Regions from separate parts of the Homo sapiens genome. Here regions 2, 3 and 4 are each linked to region 1. Evidence: promoter capture Hi-C in 16 types of primary human blood cells and fetal thymus (Javierre and others, 2016). All regions are on one chromosome and are shown on one strand. The core of a region is centred on a gene start or on the middle of the fragment in contact, and the rest is flanking DNA. Distances in the headings are between cores, read along the strand shown. Region 1 holds the start of GLRB (glycine receptor beta). Region 2 has its middle 190 kb from the start of LINC02272. Region 3 has its middle 150 kb from the start of LINC02272. Region 4 has its middle 170 kb from the start of LINC02272.

Region 1 (2,700 bases), core at 13-2,512:
CATTACATTGGCAAGCTACCTTTTTGCCCCAAAAAGGTGCCTCTTAAGTTAGCTTTAAAGCTTTCTTACTTATTTGCTACTAACATTTGTCATCAAAAAGATTACTTCAGAAATTCTACAACAAGAAATAAAACAAGTGTTGTTACATTTTTTTCAAATTATCGTCCTAGCCATATTTTAATAACATTTTCATGCTCAAATCAGAACCATATTCTTGCCAGAGATTCTGATAAATAAAAAATAATTAAGCCTCTACCTACACTAGAGAAGTTCAAACTCTTCTGCAACCTTCATTTCCAAACCATAAATTGTTTCTCTTTCATTGTTTTCCGCAGAGTAAAAGACCTGTCATATTCTTCAACGCTAACTTAATTCCCATCTCACCCTCAGAAATTTGCTTCTCCTTATGTCATGTTTTTCATCTTCCCCCCCCCCCCCCAGGATTCTTCCCCCCATATTTATCTTTTACACACACTCCAGGCAAGCCAGAGGGGCTTCTCCCTGGGTACTTTAAATTGAAGACAACAGAGGGGGCTCATCAGACCAACAGCAACAACACAAGGTTCTCCTCTGGCAACTTCACAACATTGGACGCTCCCTTCCCCCATCCGACAGCGGCACCTGCTTCCAGACACCTTGCCCACAGCAGCAGGTACTTCTCCCACTTTCACATCCTTGCCCCCGCAAAAAGGAGGGCCGAGCCCCCCTAACGCTTCGAAAAACAGAGAAATTCACCACTCTGCTCTGTCCTCACCCCCAATCTTTCAAGGGGGACAGCTGCATTGACTGGAGGATCCTCATAAACAAAACAACGCAAGGAGCCCTCCTGGCCAACCTTGCGTTTCCTAATTACCCCGGCCCTCTGCATCTCTCCACCCGGAGCGTCTCCGCGGGCGCCACCGCAGCGGGGACCCGGCTGCCGCTGCCAGGCGCCCCGCGCCCCTCTCCCGCGCAGGGCAGCGCGCGTCCTCCCGGGCACGCCGCAGTGCTCCTCGCGCTCCGCCGCCCCGGGCTTGACCCGCTGTTTCCGCAAAGGCGTCTATTCCCGTCCTCAGACCACCGTCGCCGCCCCAACCCGCGTCCCCTCCTCCTAAGTGGAGCTCCTGGCACTTACCCGGAGGCGCCCCTGCCCACAATCGCCGGGCGAGATCGTGGAGGCTCCGGGCCCAGGTGGCAGTGGCTGCTAAGGGTGCAGCGGGCGCCGAGCGGGGGCAGCTGCGTCCCAGCCGCCCGCGCCACCGCCGAGCTCGGCTGACGCGCCTGCTCGGGCCGCGGAGCCTGCGCCGTGGCGCGCCGCGGTCGGGGCCGCAGCGGGGACAGCGCGGGCCGCGGGGGAACCTGGCGACCGCGGGCGGGGGAGGGAAGAGGTGTCCCGACAGAGCAACGTCACGGCATCGTCCCCTTCAGGCATTGGAGGGGTTACCGAGCAGAAATGTGTACCCCCCTCACTCCTTAGGGGACTAAAGGAGTTGGGGACGAAGGGCGGGAATGATAGTGTCGGTACAAAAAGAAAAAACCTTTCAAGGAGCTGGGATTGCTTGGGGTCAGCTTTTGACCACTAGCAACAAACAACAGAGCAACAAATGACCTTCTTGGGTCAAAGCGAACAAAACACATTTTCTGTCATTTCACCATTTGCCTGGAACCCAGACATCCAGCTTAATCTCCGGGTCTTCCAATTTCTAAAAGCCTGAACTTTCTGAGCAAGCTTAAATTGGTCAAAATTACTGACAATATAGTCATACAGGTAATACTATGTTTAACATCTGTTACATAATTAACATGTGTACAGAACTTGACAGTTGCAAAACACCTTTCACTCGCCTTATCTCATGTGGCCCTCACCACATTCCTGGGCAAGTTTTGTCATCCCCTTCTGTAGATGAAGAATCTGAAACTCAGTTATATTAAGAGATTTACTTAGAGTTACAGATCTTGAAAGAAATTTACCAGAGATTCAAAATTAGTGATTTTTGCATATCTGAACCAGACAGGGTCTCTGCCTTATAAGAGCAAAATACTGTTGTCCTCATCCTTGTGAAGAAGTAGCCCTTACTTGGATATGCAGCCCTTAGATAACAGATAAGGCTATCCTATTACCTCTTGAATGTATGCCTGATTGATTTTTTTTAATTGTTATTTTTTAAGCAACAGGAGCTCACTTTGTTGCCCAGGCTGGAGTGCAGAGGCACAGTCATCGCTCACCGCAGTCTTGAACTTCTGGGCAATCAAGAGATCCTCTTGTCTCGGTCTCCCTAGTAGAGTAGCTGGAACAACAGACAGGCCATTGCGCTCCACTAATTATTATTATTATTTTTTAAGAGACAGCATCTCTGGCTTTGTTGTCCAGGATGGTCTCCAACTCTGGCCTGAAGCCATCCGCCTGCCTTAGCCTCCCAAGCTGGGGGGCTTACAGGCTTGAGCCACCCCACCCCACTGCACCAGGTCCTGATGGATTTTTTTTATTAAAAAAGCATTGTCTCAAGTGAGCATCACTTAGCATTGTATTGTGGACCCACAGATGTATCCACTAATAAATTTTTCCACCCGCAGCATATGGAGGGAAGGAATATTTCCTGCATATAACCGTGTTCCATAAGCTTCATGAGATATTCTGCTGCCTAAGAGTAGTGATCATTAATAAGTGATCATTACCTTATTTACATTACAAAATGATCATTATTCAAAGAGCTGTACTGT
Region 2 (2,769 bases), core at 238-2,737, 620 kb after region 1:
ATCCAGAATATTCAATTTCCTGCCTATATTAAATAGTACATTATTTTCTTTTTTTTTTCTTTTAGAGGAAGGGTCTTGCTCTGTTGCCCAGGCTGGAGTGCAGTGGTGAGATTATAGCTCAAGTGATCCATCTGCCCCAGCTCCCTGAGTAGCTGTGACAACAGAGATGCACCACCACACCTGGCTAATTTTTAAAAGTTTTTTTTTTTTTTGGTAGGGATGGGATCTTGCTATGTTATTTAGGCTGGTCTTGAACTCTTGGCCATATGCAATCCTCCTGCCTTGGCCTCCCAAAGTGGTGAGATTATGGGTAATACCTACTACACTCAGTCTATTTTTTTTATTTTAAGTACATTACTGAACACTATATAAAAATAATACCAATCACATATTGCACCTAGGAATTCCTCTAAGGAGAGTAGCAAATATCTTCCCATGCATGTGTGTATGCATGCATGTTTACAAAAACATTTGAGAAAAATTTTTGAAAATCCTTAATTTCTGTTGATTTTCCTCCATAGTTTTATGAGGCTGACAGTATCTACTAAGTGGCTTACAAAATATTTTCTCTACCTATTTAATTGAATAACTGATCTAAATATTGGTTATGAAACCACTTATACAGAGCTTTATTGGACCATCTAGTATTTTTAGGTTGGTCTACATTATTAGTTCATTGAGTGAAGGAACAGTTTTAATTGTCTTTGAACTCTTAGACCTCAACAGTGGTTTGGCAAATAAGTAGGTTGTATAATTCATTCTCACACTGCTATAAAGAACTACATAAGGCTGGGTGATTTATGAAGAAAAGAAGTTTAATTGACTCACAATTCTGTAGGCTGTAAAGGAGACATGGCTGGGGAGGCCTCAGGAAACTTACAATCATGGCAGAAGCAAGGGGAAAGCAAGCACATCTTCACATTGCTGGCAGGAGAGAGAGCGAAGGGGAAAGTGCTAAACACTTTCAAACAACCAGATCTCGTGAGAACTTACTCATAAGACAGCACTAGGGGGATGGTGCTAAGCCATTAGAAACCACTTCCATGATTCAGTTACCTCCCACTAGGGCCCACCTTCAACATAGGGGATTAAAATTTTATATGAAATTTAGGTAGGGACAAAGATCTAAACTATATCATAGGTATTCAATAAACACACACTGAAGGAATGAATGAACTAATGAATGAGAAGCAGAAACTTCCCAAATTGACAAGCCATAAATGCGCAAAATATTTTAAAGACAAACAAAGTAATATGAAGCCCTAATATTTTGTTTTGTTTGCTATTTATTTCCTTTCATTCATTCCTGGCACTGGAGAGATATAACTGAACAAGAAAAATTAGACTCTTGACCTCATAAAGCTACATTTTCTGGTAGAGTCAAGCGATAAAAAACAAACATGCGGGCTGGGCGCGGTGGCTCATGCCTGTAATCCCAGCACTTTGGGAGGCCGAGACGGGCGGATCACGAGGTCAAGAGATCGAGACCATCCTGGCTAACACAGTGAAACCTCATCTCTACTAAAAATACAAAAAATTAGCCGGGCGTGGTGGTGGGCGCCTGTAGTCCCAGCTACTCGGGAGGCTGAGGCAAGAGAATGGTGTGAACCTGGGAAGGCGGAGCTTGCAGTGAGCCGAGATCGCGCCACTACACTCCAGCCTGGGTGACAAAGCGAGACTCTGTCTCAAAAAAAAAAAAAAAACAAAAAAAAAAAAACATGCAAACAAAAGAAATAAGGAAATAAAGAAAGAGGATATTAGACACTAAGGCATGCAGTGAAGAAAACAGGCCAGGGTAAAATAATAGAAAGTTACTTGGAAATAAGAAATGCAATGTTGAAAAGAAGACCAATGGAGGTATGTTTAAAAGGTGACAGTTTTCTAGGTGCCATGGGTCACACCTGTAATCCCAGCACTTTGGGAGGTCAAAGCCAGAACATTACTTGAGCCCATGAATTCAAGACCAGCATGGGCAACATAGTGAGACCCCATATCACCAAATTTTTTTTTTTTTTTTTTTGAGATGGAGTCTCGCTCTGTCACCCAGCCTGGAGTGCAGTAGCGCAATCTTGGATCACTGCAAGCTCCGCCTCCTGGATTCACACCATTCTCCTGCCTCAGCCTCCCGAGTAGCTGGGACTACAGGCACCCACCACCACGCCCGACTAATTTTTTGTATTGTTTAGTAGAGACGGGGTTTCATCATGTTAGCCAGGATGGTCTCGATCCCATATCACCAAAATTTTTAAAATTATTCAGGCATAGTGGTGTGCACCTGTGGTCCCAGCTACTCTGGAGGCTGAAGCAAGAGGATCACTTGAGCCCAGGAGTTCAAGGTTGCAGTGAGACATGATCATGCCATAGTACTCTACCCCAAAAGAGAAGGTGACAGTTGAGTTGAAGCCTGAGTGGTGAGAGGGACCCTTCATATGAAAATTAGGGTGCAGAGCTATCTGTGCAGAGAGGAGAGAATGTGCAGGGCCACTGAGGTGGCAGCCAGGTTTTAAGAAACTGTGCTTTGGCTAAAAGAGGAGAATTGAAGAAGAGTCAAATAAGATGAGATCTGTGTAGATATAATCTAGGTACAATGGGAAGTACTATAGATGGGCTATTTGTGTCCGTCCTCCCTCCCCAAATTCCTAAGTTAAATTCTTACACCCAATGTGATTGTATATGCAGGTGAGCTCCTTGGAGGTGATTAAATTATGAGGGCAGAGCCCTTATAAATGGGGTTAGTACCCTTATAAAAGGTATCACAGAGAAATATGG
Region 3 (2,963 bases), core at 207-2,706, 580 kb after region 1:
TGGTTTGGGAATAGATGCTTTCTCTAGTCCAAAAGAATATTACAATATACTCCTTAGAAATATTTTGCCTAGAGAACTATATTTCTAAAAAGAATGTATAATAAATAATAATAATACAATAAAACTTACCTTTCAAAAGTTATATATGTATTAAATAAAGAAAATTAAAATATGAAATTTGGTTAGTGAGATATCTTAATAACTAAGCTATACAATTTGATTTCAATTCCTATCACACAGTAACAGATTCTAATAATGGATTTTTAAAATGATTTATTTACTCTTTTGAATGAAGCTCCTTCATTTCCAAAAACAAAACAAAAAAAAAATTGAAATAAAAATAAAAGATCCAGCACATTAATAGTAGAGAGAAAAGTAAAGAATTTGGAATAGTGTAACTCAAGAAAAGGTAAACCACTGTGTATTAGGATTATCTAGAGGGACAGAAGTAAGAAACTTAATAGTTTACTAAGTATTAACTCACATGATCACAAGGTCCCACAATAGGCTGTGTGCAAGCTGAGGAGCAAGGAGAGCCAGTCTGGGTCCCAAAACTGAAGAACTTGCAGTCTGCTGTTCGAGAGCAGGAAGCATCCAGCATGAGAGAAAGATGTAGGCTGGGAGGCTAGGCCCATCTCGTCACTTCATGTTTTTATGCCCGCTTTATATTCACTGGTAGCTGATTAGATGGTAACCATCCAGATTAAGGGTGGGTCTGGCTTTCCCAGTCAACTGACTCAAATGTTAATCTTCTTTGGCAACACCCTCACAGACACACCCAGGATCAATACTTTGCATTCTTCAGTTCAATCAAGTTGACACTCAGTATTAACCATCATGAGTCCACCTTTCATCAACTTGAATCCATATACATTTCCTGAGATCATACATAATCTTCAAATAAAGACAATAATAAGGTTTATAATTACACCTAACATAATACAACTATCCTTCCTACAACCAGAAATGCACCAATCCCCAACCCAAATACTATTACATAAAGTTAACGATACTTAAATGCTGATGTGAAGTCAATAAATCTTATGTCACATAAGGAATGGAGGAAAAGGCATTTGCCAAGTCAGTGACTGCATACCAGGTACCAGGAGATGTGTTAATTTGCTCAAGCAATGAAACCACATCTGGTACAGCAGCTACAATTGGAGTCACCACTTGGTTAAACTTACGATAATCCACTGTCATTTTCCAAGATCCATCTGTCTTCTGCACAGGCCAAATGGGAGAGTTGAACACAGGTGTGGTGTGGAATCACCACCCCTGCGTCTTTCAAGTCCTTGATGGTGGTACTTATCTCCGCAATACCTACAGGGTTGTGATATTGTTTTTGACTTACATTTTTCTAGGTAGAGGCACCTCTAATGGCTTCCATTTGGCCTTTCCCACCATAATAATCCTCATCCTACCAGTCAGGATGCCAATGTGGGGGTTCTGCCAGCTGCTAAGTATATCTATGCCAATTATGCATTCTGGCACTGGAGAAATGACCACAGGATGAGTCTGGGGACCCAATGGACCCACTGTAAGTTGGACTTGAGCTAAAACTCCATTAATTATCTGACCTCCATAAGCCCCTACTTTAACTGGAGGACCATAATGACGTTTTAGGTCCCCTGGAATCCACATTAACTCAGAGCCAGTGTCAAGTAGTCCCCGAAGCATCTGATTATTTCCCTTTCCCCAATGCACAGTTACCTTGGTAAAAGGCCAGAGGTCTCCTTGGGGAAGGATGGGAGAAAGGTTAACAGCATAAATTGTCAGTAGTGTAGTAGGGTGCTTCCTCAAGGGGACCCAGCCTCCCATTCATTCAAGGGGTGCTGGGTCTATAAACTGGCTTAAATCTGGAAATTGACTGAGGGGCTGTGATTCTCTGCTTTTATAATTCAAATGAGTCTTTTGTCTATTTGATCTAGAAGTTTTCTGCTTATATAAATTAAGTAGGAATGCAGTAGGCTTCCTATCAATTTCACATCTAGGAGCACCGTGACTAATTAGCCAATGCCGGAGCTCCACACCAGTCAGACTATTCTGATTGCTGCTTTGCTTCTGCTGTCCAGTATGGTAGCTATGCTCACCTTGCCTGTGATGGTTGAGTGCCACCACTTGGCCCCTGCCACCTTGGGATCCAATTATTTCCATTGTATTTAAATTTTGTAGTTGAGTGACTGCAATTCCCACTGTTAGATCTGACATACAGAGAAGACCAATTACAGGGCTCTTCAAAGATGCAGGTGCTGCCCTCACAAATCTATTTCACAAGACATTGGAAAAAGGTATATCTTCTGTATCTTCCCAGATGGGGTGAATAGATCTAAAGTGACTAATCCACTCCACCATCCCAATCTCCCTAAGCATTTTGATCCCTTCCTCTACATTAAACCAAGGGAGATCAGGCATTTCTATCCCACTCAGTAGGTCATCTTTTAATCCATATTTCAGCTAACCAAGCACATAAACTATTAAAACCTTTTTTAACTCCCTGAGGTGCAACATTAAATGCAGTATCCCTACTTAGTGGGTAAAAATCAATAAATTCAGCCTGATCCAACTCTATGTTCCTTCCACCATCATCCCACACCCTTAATATCTATTCCCATGCCTTTTCTCCAGATTTCTGTTTATATAACTTAGAAAGCTCAAGCAATTCCTTTCCTCCTCTTAGGTCACACTCTTAACCTCACCTTTAGGGGCCCGCTGGGACTTTAGTCCAGTTATAGGTCTAGAAGCAAACAGGGTTGTTGTGGGTGGCTTCTGAGGAGAATCAACATTATCTTGCCAGGCACCTGCCTCAGGGGAGGCCATCACTGTTGCCTCAGGCAGCGCAGGATTTATCATCTCAGACAAAGGTGGAAAAGCTGATGGCAGCATGGATTGCGAGGGGATGTAGCCATTACTGGGGATGGGAAGCTGTTTCTTCTGGGAAAAAGGTTCATCGGAGTTTACAA
Region 4 (2,885 bases), core at 280-2,779, 600 kb after region 1:
CCAATTGCTGTAGTGGTGAAAACTACACACCTGGTTGTAAAATAAGGTATGAAATATGTTTTCTAACCAAGGGGAAAGTGTTCTCATCAGCCACAAGGTTTAATTCACGGTAGCCTCATCATCTATAATATATGATGACATCCAGGCTCAGCTGCCAACTACTGATATTAATTACTGAGACTTGATTGGGGTTAACCACTTTTGCTTAAGGTTTCAGCATTCTCTAATTTCAGCTGTCTCTGTGATTCAGTGCTCTAAATACTTATTAGAAATGACAGGATGTGCAAAACATGAATCTAGAAGGACCCAAGGAATATCATCAGATAGGATCATCCAGTCTAGTTTATCTACATATGAGATTCTCTTAAATTTAAACTTGAAATTCTTCCTCTTATTTGTTTCCAATCTATGTCTGTGCTTATGTAAAGGCAATAGGGTTCCTTTTCCCGTATTTTTGAAACCATAATATTATTGGTTACAGGATATAACCTAATGGCTTCCTCTGCATTCTGATGCATAGCCCAGATATTATGATATCATTATTACTAAAAAGACATTATGATATTTTAATATGGTTCTTAAATGGCATCATATGATAAATGTCTTAAGTATTCACAAACAAATACGTTTTTATAGTTTGAAATTAATCAACTTGGGCTGCATTCAGAAAACAGAAAAAATAAAATAAGTGATAAATGTTATACATTACTTAATGAAAATTATCCCATTACATTAAAAAAAGATTTTAAAGTTTATTGAGTTGGTCTTTAAGAATGTATTTGCATATGTATTAAATTACACATGAAAAACTAGAAATGTTTTGATTTCATGACAAAGTAATTTTATTTACAAATAGTCTTATTAAAGAACCATTAAAGACTGTTGTAATTGAAGAATAGTTTTTCCAGTTAAAACCAAATTTTCAAAATTAATAGTAAGTTGACCCATTTCCACAGTCTCCATATCTGTCTTCTAAACATTTTTCAAAAGTCTCAAAATGACAAGAAATATTTTACTTCAGTACAATCAAGCAAATGAAACAAACTTAGAGACCATGAAGATAAACTAGACACATCTTCATAAGCACGAAACATTTTTTATGTCACAAAAAATATATTTGAGTTTTCCAAAGACAACTAAATAACACATTTGCTTCCTTTGAAAATAACATTGCTTCATTTAAAAACACTTGGGAGAGGTTGGTGTGGTGGCTCACCCCTGTAATCTCAGCACTTTGGGAGGTTGAGCCAGGAGGAATGCTTGAACTTAGGAGTTCAAGAAGAGCCTAGGGGGCACACAGTGAGTCCTCATCTCTACAAAAAAAAAAAAAAAAAATTAGCTGGGTGTAGGGACATGTGTGCCAGTAGTCTCAGCTACTTGGGAGGCTGAGGTGGGAGAATTGCTTGAGCCTGGGAAGTTGAGGCTGCAGTGAGCTGTGATTTCATCACTGCACTCCATCCTGGGCAGCAGAGTAAGACCCCGTCTCAAAAAACAAAACACACACACACACACACACACACACACACACACACACGAGAAATAATTATTTTCCTAAGACGCCAAATTCCTTAAATAGATGCCTATTCCTGTTCTCTATTGTTAAGCAAGTAGGCTTTGTGACATATTTGTTACATAAATGGAGTAAGGATTCCCCCCTTTTATGTTGCCCTAAATTGTTTACTTCTTCATAGCAAGCTGGAACCCATTTGCTCAAAACATCATGGGTGCCAAATTCAAATTTTTATGTATCCAGTTGCTTTAAATGTAGCCCGATAGATAGAATTTTAGCCATTTAGAGCCCAATGCTTTGTGGACCCCACAAAACTGCTCTCATTGTCTGCTGGCCATAGACAAGATGATTAACCCCAGAGCTATGAATGACCCCAGGCTGCTGCTGCCCTTTGGAGATCCCTGATCCAGAGATTCCCCATCTTGCTGCTGAGTGACATCATTTGCACATGAATCCCCATTGCCCATGCCCCATCTGCCCCAGGAGGACCTTCCTTCTTCTGCTTCTGAATGGGGACCTCTGGACCCTCTCATTCTATGAGGGACTTTCCCCACATGCAAACCTGTAAATGTCTGACCCAAATAAAGGTCTTTGAGGGCTAGTTCTATCTTGTGGTCATCTCTTTTTCCTTGATCAGCTGCAAAATCCTTTGACCTCCCTACAATGCTTTTAGATAAGAAAGAGACCAACAGTTAACATCATTAAATATAAATCTCAGTCCCTATAGGATCTATTTGATTGTTTCCATTTCAATTATTTTCTTTTTGTTCTCCTGGCATGTCCTAGAAGAAATAAATTTTTAGCTGGGCTCCAGAGAACTGAAAAAATATTCCATAACATATGTATTTCTTCTATGACCCTTTGATTTTTTTTCTAATTAATCTTCACTCCACAGTTTTGAAGCAAGACAAACTTTATTTTTCTCTGTATTATTCTTTCCCATTGACCTTCAATAATATCTCAGGAAATACTGTATACTTGAAAAGCAGGCAGAGGTAAAATAATTCAGAGGAGTTATTTTGTGTTTCTTACTATAGTAAAGGCATTTCATATAGAATTTCACATTTTTATTCCAAAAGGCAAGTTCAGAGCTTTTTTCTATGGTGGTAAAAACATACAATTTACTATCTTAACTATTTTTAAGTGTACAATACAGTAGTGTTAACCATATGAACAATTTTGTGCAATAGCTCTCTGGAACTTTTCATCTTGCATGACTGAAACACTATACCCATTGAACAACTCTGCTTTTATACTTCCTCTCTGCCTCTGGCAACAACCATTCAACTTTCTGCTTCTAAGATTTTTCCTACTTTAGATATCACCATATTACATCCACTTATAAAGTAGAATCATGCAATGAGTCTCTTTGTGA

The links. Contacts are between HindIII fragments. The CHiCAGO score rates a contact against its expected background, and 5 or more counts as called.
Region 2: a fragment that was not itself captured here is called in contact with the fragment with the promoter of GLRB in region 1 in 1 of 17 cell types (M2 macrophages); the score reaches 6.0 in M2 macrophages.
Region 3: a contact is called between a fragment that was not itself captured here and the fragment with the promoter of GLRB in region 1, in 1 of 17 cell types (monocytes). The highest score is 5.3, in monocytes.
Region 4: a fragment that was not itself captured here is called in contact with the fragment with the promoter of GLRB in region 1 in 1 of 17 cell types (M0 macrophages); the score reaches 5.6 in M0 macrophages.

The regions. Positions count from the first base shown.
Region 1 is chr4:157,074,712-157,077,411 of GRCh38, reverse strand. It overlaps GLRB (glycine receptor beta), which reads right to left and starts at 1,262. Exons shown (of 10, transcript NM_000824.5): 1 at 1,115-1,262. The HindIII fragment of the contact is 1,648 bases long and covers 63-1,710 here.
Region 2 is chr4:156,451,947-156,454,715 of GRCh38, reverse strand. No RefSeq gene overlaps it. Among named protein-coding and RNA genes, the nearest start is that of LINC02272, 190 kb to the left of the region's middle. The HindIII fragment of the contact is 3,147 bases long and covers 1-2,769 here.
Region 3 is chr4:156,489,772-156,492,734 of GRCh38, reverse strand. No RefSeq gene overlaps it. Among named protein-coding and RNA genes, the nearest start is that of LINC02272, 150 kb to the left of the region's middle. The HindIII fragment of the contact is 7,171 bases long and covers 1-2,963 here.
Region 4 is chr4:156,470,075-156,472,959 of GRCh38, reverse strand. No RefSeq gene overlaps it. Among named protein-coding and RNA genes, the nearest start is that of LINC02272, 170 kb to the left of the region's middle. The HindIII fragment of the contact is 4,295 bases long and covers 1-2,885 here.